Linked DNA regions of Homo sapiens: regions 1 and 3 are each linked to region 2. Evidence: promoter capture Hi-C in 16 types of primary human blood cells and fetal thymus (Javierre and others, 2016). All regions are on one chromosome and are shown on one strand. Each heading gives the region's core, a stretch centred on a gene start or on the middle of the fragment in contact. The rest is flanking DNA. Distances are from core to core; before and after follow the strand shown. Region 1 holds the start of OR6C70 (olfactory receptor family 6 subfamily C member 70). Region 2 has its middle 28 kb from the start of OR10A7. Region 3 holds the start of TMT1B (thiol methyltransferase 1B).

The links. Contacts are between HindIII fragments. The CHiCAGO score rates a contact against its expected background, and 5 or more counts as called.
Region 1: a contact is called between the fragment with the promoter of OR6C70 here and a fragment that was not itself captured in region 2, in 2 of 17 cell types (M1 macrophages and M2 macrophages). The highest score is 5.2, in M1 macrophages.
Region 3: the fragment with the promoter of TMT1B here is called in contact with a fragment that was not itself captured in region 2 in 4 of 17 cell types (monocytes, neutrophils, erythroblasts and 1 more); the score reaches 7.3 in monocytes.

The regions. Positions count from the first base shown.
Region 1 is chr12:55,468,354-55,471,508 of GRCh38, forward strand. It overlaps OR6C70 (olfactory receptor family 6 subfamily C member 70), which reads right to left and starts at 1,785. Exons shown (of 1, transcript NM_001005499.1): 1 at 847-1,785. The coding sequence starts at 1,785. The coding sequence ends at 847. The HindIII fragment of the contact is 2,936 bases long and covers 156-3,091 here.
Region 2 is chr12:55,191,651-55,195,037 of GRCh38, forward strand. It overlaps the pseudogene OR10U1P. Among named protein-coding and RNA genes, the nearest start is that of OR10A7, 28 kb to the right of the region's middle. The HindIII fragment of the contact is 1,218 bases long and covers 1,224-2,441 here.
Region 3 is chr12:55,680,351-55,683,815 of GRCh38, forward strand. It overlaps TMT1B (thiol methyltransferase 1B), which reads left to right and starts at 1,386. Exons shown (of 2, transcript NM_152637.3): 1 at 1,386-1,902; 2 at 3,463-3,465. The coding sequence starts at 1,405. RefSeq lists an enhancer at 1,045-1,720. The HindIII fragment of the contact is 9,637 bases long and covers 1-3,465 here.

The DNA of each region.
Region 1 (3,155 bases), core at 535-3,034, 280 kb after region 2:
TGCAATTTCTAAAATCTGTCCAACATAAATAATAAATATCACATACATGAAATGTATGATTCCCTTCAAAGGAAATTACGCTTTTCTGTGTTGACAATTGACAGTTCGAAAAGTTCACTTTACAAAATAATTTTCTACATTATTTTTAAGGAGTAAGCTTTCTTGAAACATTTTAAATATATTTTTTAACAATGACAATATTTGATTTATCTAAGACTTTTAAAGAACATGGCATTTAACTAAAACAAGGTACATTTCTTTAAATTACTTAGCATAAGATCTACTATTTAATAGCACAACAGGGAGACTACAGTCGATAATAACTAAATTGTATATTTTTAAATAACTTTAAAAATGTAATAGGATTGCTTGTAACTCAAAGGATAAGTACTTGAGGGGATGGGTACACCATTCTCCATGATGCATTTGTTTCACATTGAATGCCTGTATCAAAACATCTCATATACCCCATAAATTTATACACCTACTATGTACCCGCAAATTTTCTTAAATAATTTTTTAATTTTTATAAATTATTTAGATCAAACTCTTGAAGAACTTATATTCTATAATCACTGAAAACCACTCATTTATTTTATTCTAACATGCTTTTAGAGAAAATCAATTTTGCAATTGTTTTCTTTCTAATACAGAAAGGTTTGAATACTGAAAAAGAGAAAATTAAAGTCAGAATGGATAGAATGAAAAACGTTCTGATTGTTGGACAAGCTAAAGTCATACAAATAATTGAATATTGGGTATCAATTCTTAAACTAGAAGAGTCAAATTAGTGTTTTGTTCAAAGATCCTTTTATGTTTTCATGTTAATTATTTCAACAAGTTGTATTACTTGTCTGAAGCAGAAAATATCTTTCTAAATACAGCTTTGAAGGCTTGTTTAACTTGCTGATTCCTCAGAGTATAAATAAATGGGTTTAACAACGGGGCAACTGAAGTATTGAGCACAGTTACTCCTTTGCTTAAAGCAACTCTTTCATTCGCTGATGGCTTTATGTAGATAAACATACAACTACCATAAGTGATGGAGACAACAATCATGTGAGAAGAGCAGGTGGAAAAGGCTTTCTTCTTTTGCTGAGCTGAAGGGAATTTCAGAATTGTCTTGATGATGTAAGAGTAAGAAAGGATTACTAAAAACAATGTGACAATAAGTGTCATCACAGCTAATAAAAAGGCAATCAGTTCCAGTAAATGTGTGTCTGAGCAAGAAAGTTGTAGGATAAGAGAAATGTCACAAATGAAATGATCAATGATATTTGAAGCACAGAAATCCAAGTTAAGACCTAAAATCAGTGGAGTGAAAATGATCAGGAATCCAGTTACCCAAGAACTGAATACAAGCTGGTAGCAAACTTTGTTACTCATGATGGACATATAACGCAAAGGTTTGCAGATGGCAACATAGCGATCATAGGACAGAGCAGCTAGAAGGAAAAATTCTGTAACCCCCAAGAATATGTAAAAAAACAACTGAGATATGCAACCATTACAGGAAATGGTCTTTTCCCTGGTAACAATGGTGATTAGGAATCTGGGAATGCAAGCAGTTGTGAATGAAATTTCCAGAAAAGAGAAATTACGGAGGAAGAAATACATTGGAGTCTTGAGCTGGGAATCCAGCAGAATGAGGGCAATGATAGTGAAGTTCCCTATCATGCTCAACACACAATTTAGAAGTAGAAATAAGAAAATTACAATCTGTAACTGAGAATTATCCGTCAGTCCCAGAAGAATAAATTCTATCTGCCTTGTATGATTCTTCATTTCTCTGTTGTGATTTCAATCAAATTCTAGGAATAAAAAGGTGCAAGGGTTGAGCTAGGTCCAGGAAAAGATACAGGAAAGTTTCCACACTTACAAACATATACATTTAAGAGGTAGTACTCCATGGATGTTGAAGATATGATATAGAACTATGCAACAGAAATTGTAAACTAGGGGTTTAAAAGTACAACAAACATCATCTCACTTTGGAAAATTGATTTGCAAAGCCCTTAATAGTTGATTTTCAAGCTAGTTTTTTTCATGCTTCCACTTCAAGATTCCACTTAATTGTAACTAATTCCAGGTTTGTCAAGTTGTAAATAAATTAGGTAAAGATCTTGGTTCAGGATTCAAAAATAGTTCATTCATTTTAAAATTATTAATTTCATCTAAAGAAAATGATGCCAGTGTAATGAATTAAGACCTAAGTTAAGGGAAGGCACAGTGACTCATGCCTGTAATCCCAGCACTTGGGAGGCCAAACTGGGGATCGCCTGGGGCCAGGAGTTGAAGATCAGCGTGAGCAACATAGGGAGATGCCAGCTTGGGTGACAGAGAGAGACCCTGTCTTTTTTGTTAAGAATTAAAAGACCTACAGTCAAATTTTGAAACTTTACATTATATTATATTAAAGTGACATTTGTTTAAAGCCCTGCTATACAGCCTTTTTCAACTTCTCTATGAACTACATATGAAGATACGGAAAAATGCCCCTAAAAAGTATGAGTTGATACCACAACAAAATAAATACTAGTTGAATCTAGGAAACTCAAAACTTAATATTATGCATATATTGCCACATTTACAAAAAAAAAGTCTATTTAGGACTTAAAAATTTTGTCTTGTGTAATCAAGACCATAGGAGTAAGAAAGAAAACAGATAAAACATTGCATCTCTTCCAAGTCGCTACAGTTACAGGTACCTACAGTCTAAACCTACTTTCTAGATGTAATACTGTGAGTGAAAAATCAGTGCTTTCTTGCCACACTATCTGAGTCCCCAACAATTATTCATGCAGGTAACCAACGACTATTAATTTAGGGAAATAATGGGGTAGGAAGGGTGTAATCATTTGAATGGGACAAAAGGATTCTGATGGTATTTTAAGTTTGTTATTGTAGGTTTCCCAGAGTATCAGGTTGCCAATGAAAAAAGTGAAGTGAGTAATAGTACAGAAGTAAAGCAAAGGTGACAGACTGCTAGGAATTAGAAAGTGGACTTAAAATCCAGCTAAGGATCTGAGAAATAACTTATCAATGGCTACTGAGAAAAAAGGCAATCCACTCTCAGGGTTAAAGTTTGGGAAGCTTCTTTATTGTTTAATAATTAATTTTTAAATGTTAAGCTGAGTATCACAAACAAACGAAAA
Region 2 (3,387 bases), core at 583-3,082:
TTCCTTTTTCTCCACAACCTCCCCAGCAACTGTTATTTTTTTAACTCTTTAATAATCGCCATTCTGAGTGGTATGAGATGGTATTTCATTGTGGTTTTGATTTGCATTTCTCTAGTGATCAGTGGTGTTTAGCTTTTCTTCTATGATTATGGGCTACATGTATGTCTTCTTTTGAGAAGTGTCTGTTCATGTCCTTTGCCCACTTTTTAATAGGGTTGTTCGTTTTTTTTTCTTATAAATTTGTTTAAGTTCTCACAGATTCTGGATATTAGACCTTTTTCAGATGCATATTTTGAAAAGTTTTCTCCAATTCTGTAGGTTGTCTGTTTACTCTGTTGAGTTTCTTTTACTGTGCAGAAGCTCTTTAGTTTATTTAGATCCCATTTGTCAATTTTTTCTTTTGTTGCAATTGCTTTTGTCATCTTTGTCATGAAATGTTTGCCCGTGCTTAAGTCCTGAATGGTATTGCCTAGGTTGTCTTCCAAGGTTTTTATAGTTTTGGGTTTTACATTTAAGTCTTTAATCCATCTTGAGTTAATTTTTATATATGGCTTAAGGAAGGGGTCCAGTTTCAATCTTCTGCATAGGGCTAGCCAGTTATCCCTGCACCATTTATTGAACAGGGAATCTTTTCCCCATTGCTTCTTTTTGTTCATTTTGTGAAAGATCAGATGATTGTAGGTGTAATATTGCTCTTTTAATTCCCCCTTTTAATGCTTTGTCTCTGTCAATTTTATAACCTTCAGATATCTATTAGTTATTAAAATTGAGAGAATTTAAAAATTTTCAATCTCATTTAATTCAAAACTCAGGCAATGCCAAATGTTTTTAGACCTTATATTCTCCTGTGAATTGATATGTCATGAATGAGGGAGAGAAAAGGGCACATTTCTTTACTGAGTGAGTCCCAGACAGTGATAATATGTAGTTAACAATGCAGTTCTGTCAATATGATTGCATGTTATTCCACAAAAGCTATTAGGTTTCCCAATGATAATATGCATCATTTTCTTGCAGCACTGTTAAGTCTACCTTACTTCAGTGTTGAGAACCTCTTCAGAAAGGGGCCAGCTATATTGCCGTTGCTCCCCTTGTAGTCTATACCCAAAACCTCTTCTCCTATTTCCTTCACAAGATTAAATTTTAGTGGTTATTTATGGAACCTGACATAATAATGGACACACTGTTTTTCTTAACTCATGTGTATCGTTTTCCCACTTCCAAGCTTCTTTCAAATAAATTAATTGCACTTGTATTAGAGTTTGACTCTAGAGTATCAACACTAAGATAAAATCAAAAAACTTTCAGGTTGACAAAATGTCTCTGAACATTTACATTTTTGTCAACTTCTCTAAAGTTGCCATAAGAAACCAACAGTTTTTTAAAGTTCTTTGTTTTAGTGTCTTATAGAAGACTTGCTTTTTATTATTCAAAGAGACAAAAACAATATATATTAGCTAGAATATATACACCGTGACAAAAGAAAATTATATTTAAATCAATACATTTAAACAGGGTTTACAATAGGTGTAATAAGATTGTATGTCTCAAAGGCAGACATTTCCCTAAGTCTTTACTCACATGAAAAACAAATAAACAAACCAACAAAAAACAGGTGGATAAGAGCAAAGGAAAACTCATGTTTCAGATAAAGAATTCAGGTCTCTCACTGGATTTACAAACTAAATATTTAAAGTTCTTTCATGGTGTACACCACTCATTAGTATTTATTAACAGTTGGTTATTTAATATGTATGACCTTAAGATGTACAGAGAGCACACTAATTAAAGGAGCATACTCCAATTAAGAACTTAAATTCTAATAGACTATATTTGATACTAAAATAGTATTACTTCCTGTTTATTTCATTTTTTGTTTTATACTCATAAAGGATATTTCATTTTCCTCAGGAAAATGGCATGAAACATACTGGACTTAATGCTATTACCACTGGAGAAGGAGAAAATGGTAGCTTGACACATGAGATGCCCTGTAAATACTGTTGAATGAATGAATGATTAACAATTGAATGAATCTACTGTGTAGTTTCCTTTTACTTACAGACATTGAAAAATGTGTGACAAATCCAAATGTTTTTTGGTAGCTAGGCTATAAATGCTTTAATAAAAGAATATGTTGGTAGAAGAATCATAAAATCGGGTAACCTCTCTGTACAGTAGCATAGGTTTCAGCTACTATGACTGGTTTAGGCCGTTTGTCTAAGAGAGTTCCTTTGGGTTATCCTTTGAAAGGCTTCCTTTACTTCCTTGTTCCTCAAGGTATAGATAACAGGATTCAAAGCAGGTGTGACCATTGTGTACATGAGTGCAGTTGCTTTGTCTGTTTCTGGAGTGTGTGCAGTCTTAGGTTGCAGATAAGTGAACAAGGCAGTGCCATAGAACAGAGAAACAACCAAGATATGAGAAGAACAAGTGGAGAAAGCTTTGTGTCTTCCAGCTGCTGAAGGGATTCTCAAGATGGTCACAGGGATGTGCATGTGGGAGCACAGAATGAGGAAACAAGGACTCACAATAAATAGCACGGAGAGAGAAAACATCACAATTTCAATTTGGGAGGTATCAATACAAGCCAGTTTCAGTACAGGCATTATGTCACAAAAAAGTGTTGAATCTTTCCTGTTCCACAGAAAGGCAAAGTGAAGATCAGGGTGATCTGGGCTGACTCCACCACCACTCCAGTGAACCAAGATGCTGCAGCCAATTTCAAACAAACACGAGGGCCCATGAAGAGAGTGTAATGCAGTGGGTAACAAATAGCTACAAAGCGATCGTAAGCCATAGCTGCTAGCAAGCAGCATTCTGTCAGTCCCAAGATGGCAAATATGTACATCTGGGTTGCACAGCCACCCACACTTATGGTTTTGGTCTCCACCAGCAGGTGCACCAGCATGAGGCACCACACTGGTGGTATAGCACATCTCCAGAAATGAGAGGTTCACCAGGAAGAAATACATTGGAGTGTGCAGGGCAGGGGTGATCCAGATCAGGGAGATGATGATGATATTTCCTCCTATAGTGCATAAGTGATGATTAAGAACACAATGAAGAGTACAAGCTGTAATTCTTCTATAGAAGAAAAAGCCACAAATGTGAATTTGGCACACAGGGACTGATTTCCATCTATGGTGGGCTCAGAGCTAAACATCTGTGCAGACAACAAAGAAGGCAGGTTAATGGGAATGCAGTCACCTAACACATCTCTCTACTGAACCACAGCAAAGGAGCTTTCCTAGAATCAGTAGTCTGAGATGAGAATCTAGACACCTGGATTTCTTCTGTTAAATCTTTCTAAACTACACAATTACATCGAATACATATTTCTTCCTGATTTTAAGTTATGGATTATATGCAATTTTCACAAACATT
Region 3 (3,465 bases), core at 136-2,635, 490 kb after region 2:
ACATAAAACCAAATATTGCTGGTGGACGTGTAAATGGGTACAATCACTTTGGAAACCCATTTGCTATTATCTACTAAATCCAATACATTGTTAAGAAGGGGGGGAAGCAAGGTATACAAGAGTGTGTACAATATACTACTATTTGTAAAAGAAAAGGGAATATGTATATGTATATATGTACATGGATCTAAACACGTGGTGTGTGTGTTCCCTGCTCGTTCACAGGTCATCTCTGGAAGGATTCACAAGAAATTGGCAATATGGCATTTAGTGCCTCCAGAGAGGAGATCTGAGTGGTTGGGTCACAGGAGTAGAAGAGAGAATTTTCCCTGTAATCTCTTTAGTATCTTTTTAATTTTGTACTAAGTGAATGTACTGCCTCTTCCAAAAAAAGTTGTTTAATAATGTTTTGTAAAAAGAATTCTTCTCAGCCAGGCGCAGTGGCTCCCAACTGTAATCCCAGCACTTTGGGAAGTCGAGGTGGGTGGATCACCTGAGCCCAGGAGTTCAAGACCAACCTGGGCAACAGGGTGAAACCCTGTCTCTACAAATTACAGAAAAAAAAAAATTGCTGGGCATGGTGGTATGCACTTGTAGTCCCAGAAAATCAGGAGGCTGGTGTAAGAGGATCACTTGAGCCTAGGGACATTGAGGTTGCAGTGAGCCCAGACTGCTGCCACTGCACCCCAGCCTGGGCAGCAGAGACCCTGTCTCAAAAAAAGGAAAGAAGGAAAGAAGGGAGGAAGGGAGGGAGGGAGGGAAGGATCTCTAAAAAGTGGCTATTCTCTGACCTCACTTCCCCCTATTTGTCCAACTTACCCCATTCCCCACAGAACTAAACTTCTCACCCTTTCCAGGAGAGGGCATGCTGTCTCTGTCCTGTACACCTACTTTTTCCTCTGCCAAGAGCACCCTTCCCTTCCTATGGCCCCTCTGAAGTGCCTGACCTGAGGACGAAATGAGGCCAGGATATGTCCCATGAGTCAACTCTGTCCCCAGCATTCACCACTACCAACCCACCCCCAACGCCCTGCCAGCCCCCGACACTCCCCCGCCATGAGTCTGTCATCTGAAACATATCCCCTTACCCCTTCCCACTCCCTCTGAGATGACTCAGCAGCCCCTGCCCCCCTTCAGCTGGGCACAGTGCCCCAGAACTCAGGAACATGGGTACCACCTGTCCCTCCGCCCACATAAAAGTCATTGAAGAGCTTGTGGGGCTGTGGGACCTGCGCCCTCTGGAGGAATTCCATACACCCACTCAACTCTGGCAAATAGGAAATTGTCAAGTAGGAGACAAGGAGCAAAGTCCTATCACAGCGGGAGGGGACGCCAGCGCCTGCAGAGGCTGAGCAGGGAAAAAGCCAGTGCCCCAGCGGAAGCACAGCTCAGAGCTGGTCTGCCATGGACATCCTGGTCCCACTCCTGCAGCTGCTGGTGCTGCTTCTTACCCTGCCCCTGCACCTCATGGCTCTGCTGGGCTGCTGGCAGCCCCTGTGCAAAAGCTACTTCCCCTACCTGATGGCCGTGCTGACTCCCAAGAGCAACCGCAAGATGGAGAGCAAGAAACGGGAGCTCTTCAGCCAGATAAAGGGGCTTACAGGAGCCTCCGGGAAAGTGGCCCTACTGGAGCTGGGCTGCGGAACCGGAGCCAACTTTCAGTTCTACCCACCGGGCTGCAGGGTCACCTGCCTAGACCCAAATCCCCACTTTGAGAAGTTCCTGACAAAGAGCATGGCTGAGAACAGGCACCTCCAATATGAGCGGTTTGTGGTGGCTCCTGGAGAGGACATGAGACAGCTGGCTGATGGCTCCATGGATGTGGTGGTCTGCACTCTGGTGCTGTGCTCTGTGCAGAGCCCAAGGAAGGTCCTGCAGGAGGTCCGGAGAGTACTGAGACCGGTAAGCAGGGTGGGAAGGGGATGGGTGTGGGGCAGGCAAACGCAGCATCAGCCGCCCCAGGGTTCGGCCCCCAGAATGGGGCGTCTGAGGTAGTAAGTAGCACATTAGACACCCCATCCACCTCTACCTGCTGGTGAATAGGAGACATGACCAGTGCCATGACGGGGCACAATTGGGTGCTGTGGAAGCAACAGGAGGATCACCTACCACCATGGGACAGGGAGGGGAGTGGGGAGGACACCTAAGGAACTGAGGTTTAAATCGAGATCTGTGCTTGGGAGGCTGAAGCAGAAGGATGACTTGAGCCCAGGAGTTCAAGACCAGCCAAGGCAACATAGTGAGATGCCGTCTCTACAAAAAAAAAAAAAAAAAAAAATACAAAAGCTAGCCAGGCGTGGTGGCACATGCCTATAGTCCTAGCTACTCAGGAAGCTGAGGTGGGAGGATCACTTGAGCCCGAGTTCAAAGTTACAGTGAACTATGATCGCACCACTGCACTCCAGCCTGGGCCACAGAGTGAGACCCTGTATCAAAAAAAATAAATAAATAAATAAAAAGAGAGAGAGAGAGAGAGATCTGAGGGATTAAGCAGAGTGTGGACGGGGTGGGGAAAATAAAAGAGTGTTCTAGGTAAAGATAGTAGGGGAAGTAGAGTAGAATCCATCAGACTGTGGAGAGAACGTTCAGAATAGTTTCCAGGTTTCTAGCATGAGCAACTGAGGGGAGAGCTGATGAAAAGTGCCATTTGCTGAGATGGAAGAAAGCTGTTTTGGACTTACTAGGTTTGAGATCACCTAGGGAGAGTATAGTGAGGCGAGGAGCTTGAGGAACCCCAGCTTCAGTCAAGAGTTGGGCCTGAGGTTTCCCTGGGATGTTCACAGCGATGTCCAGGAAGCAGCTTGTGCATGCATCTGGGTTTTGTGAGAGAGGTTGTGCGTGTATCTCAGAATACAATAAGCCCAGCTGGGCGAGGTGGCTCACGCCTGTAATCCAGCACTTTGGGAGGCAAGGCAGGTGGATCTCTTGAGGCCAGGAGTTTGAAACCAGACTGGCCAACATGGTGAAACCCTGTCTCTACTGAAAAATACAAAAAGTAGCCGGGCGTGGTGGCTCATGCCTGTAATCCCAGCTACTTGGGAGGCTGAGGCAGGAGAATCGCTTGAACCTGAGAGGTGGAGGTTGCAGTGCGCCGAGATCACGCCATTGCACTCCAGCCTGAGCAACAGACTGAGACTCTGTCTCAAAAAATAATAATAATAATAATAATACAATGAGCCCTCCACTCCTGTTTCTCAGTTTCCCCTTCTGCATGCCCTCGGTTATTCTGGTCAGGCTTTAAAGATCTCCCACCAGCCACTCCTTTCAGTTATGAGGTTCTTCACATGCACTTTGAAGGCGGTAGCAGGGGATGCAGAAAAGGTCAGGGGCACGACAGTTTGCTCCATGAACTCTCAGACCAGCAGCTCCCATTTCACCAAGAAGTTTGACTGTCTTGATCAGCGCGATAGGGAGCAGGGTCAGAATGGAGCCAAGTGACACTAACTCTCTCATCCCTCCCAGGGA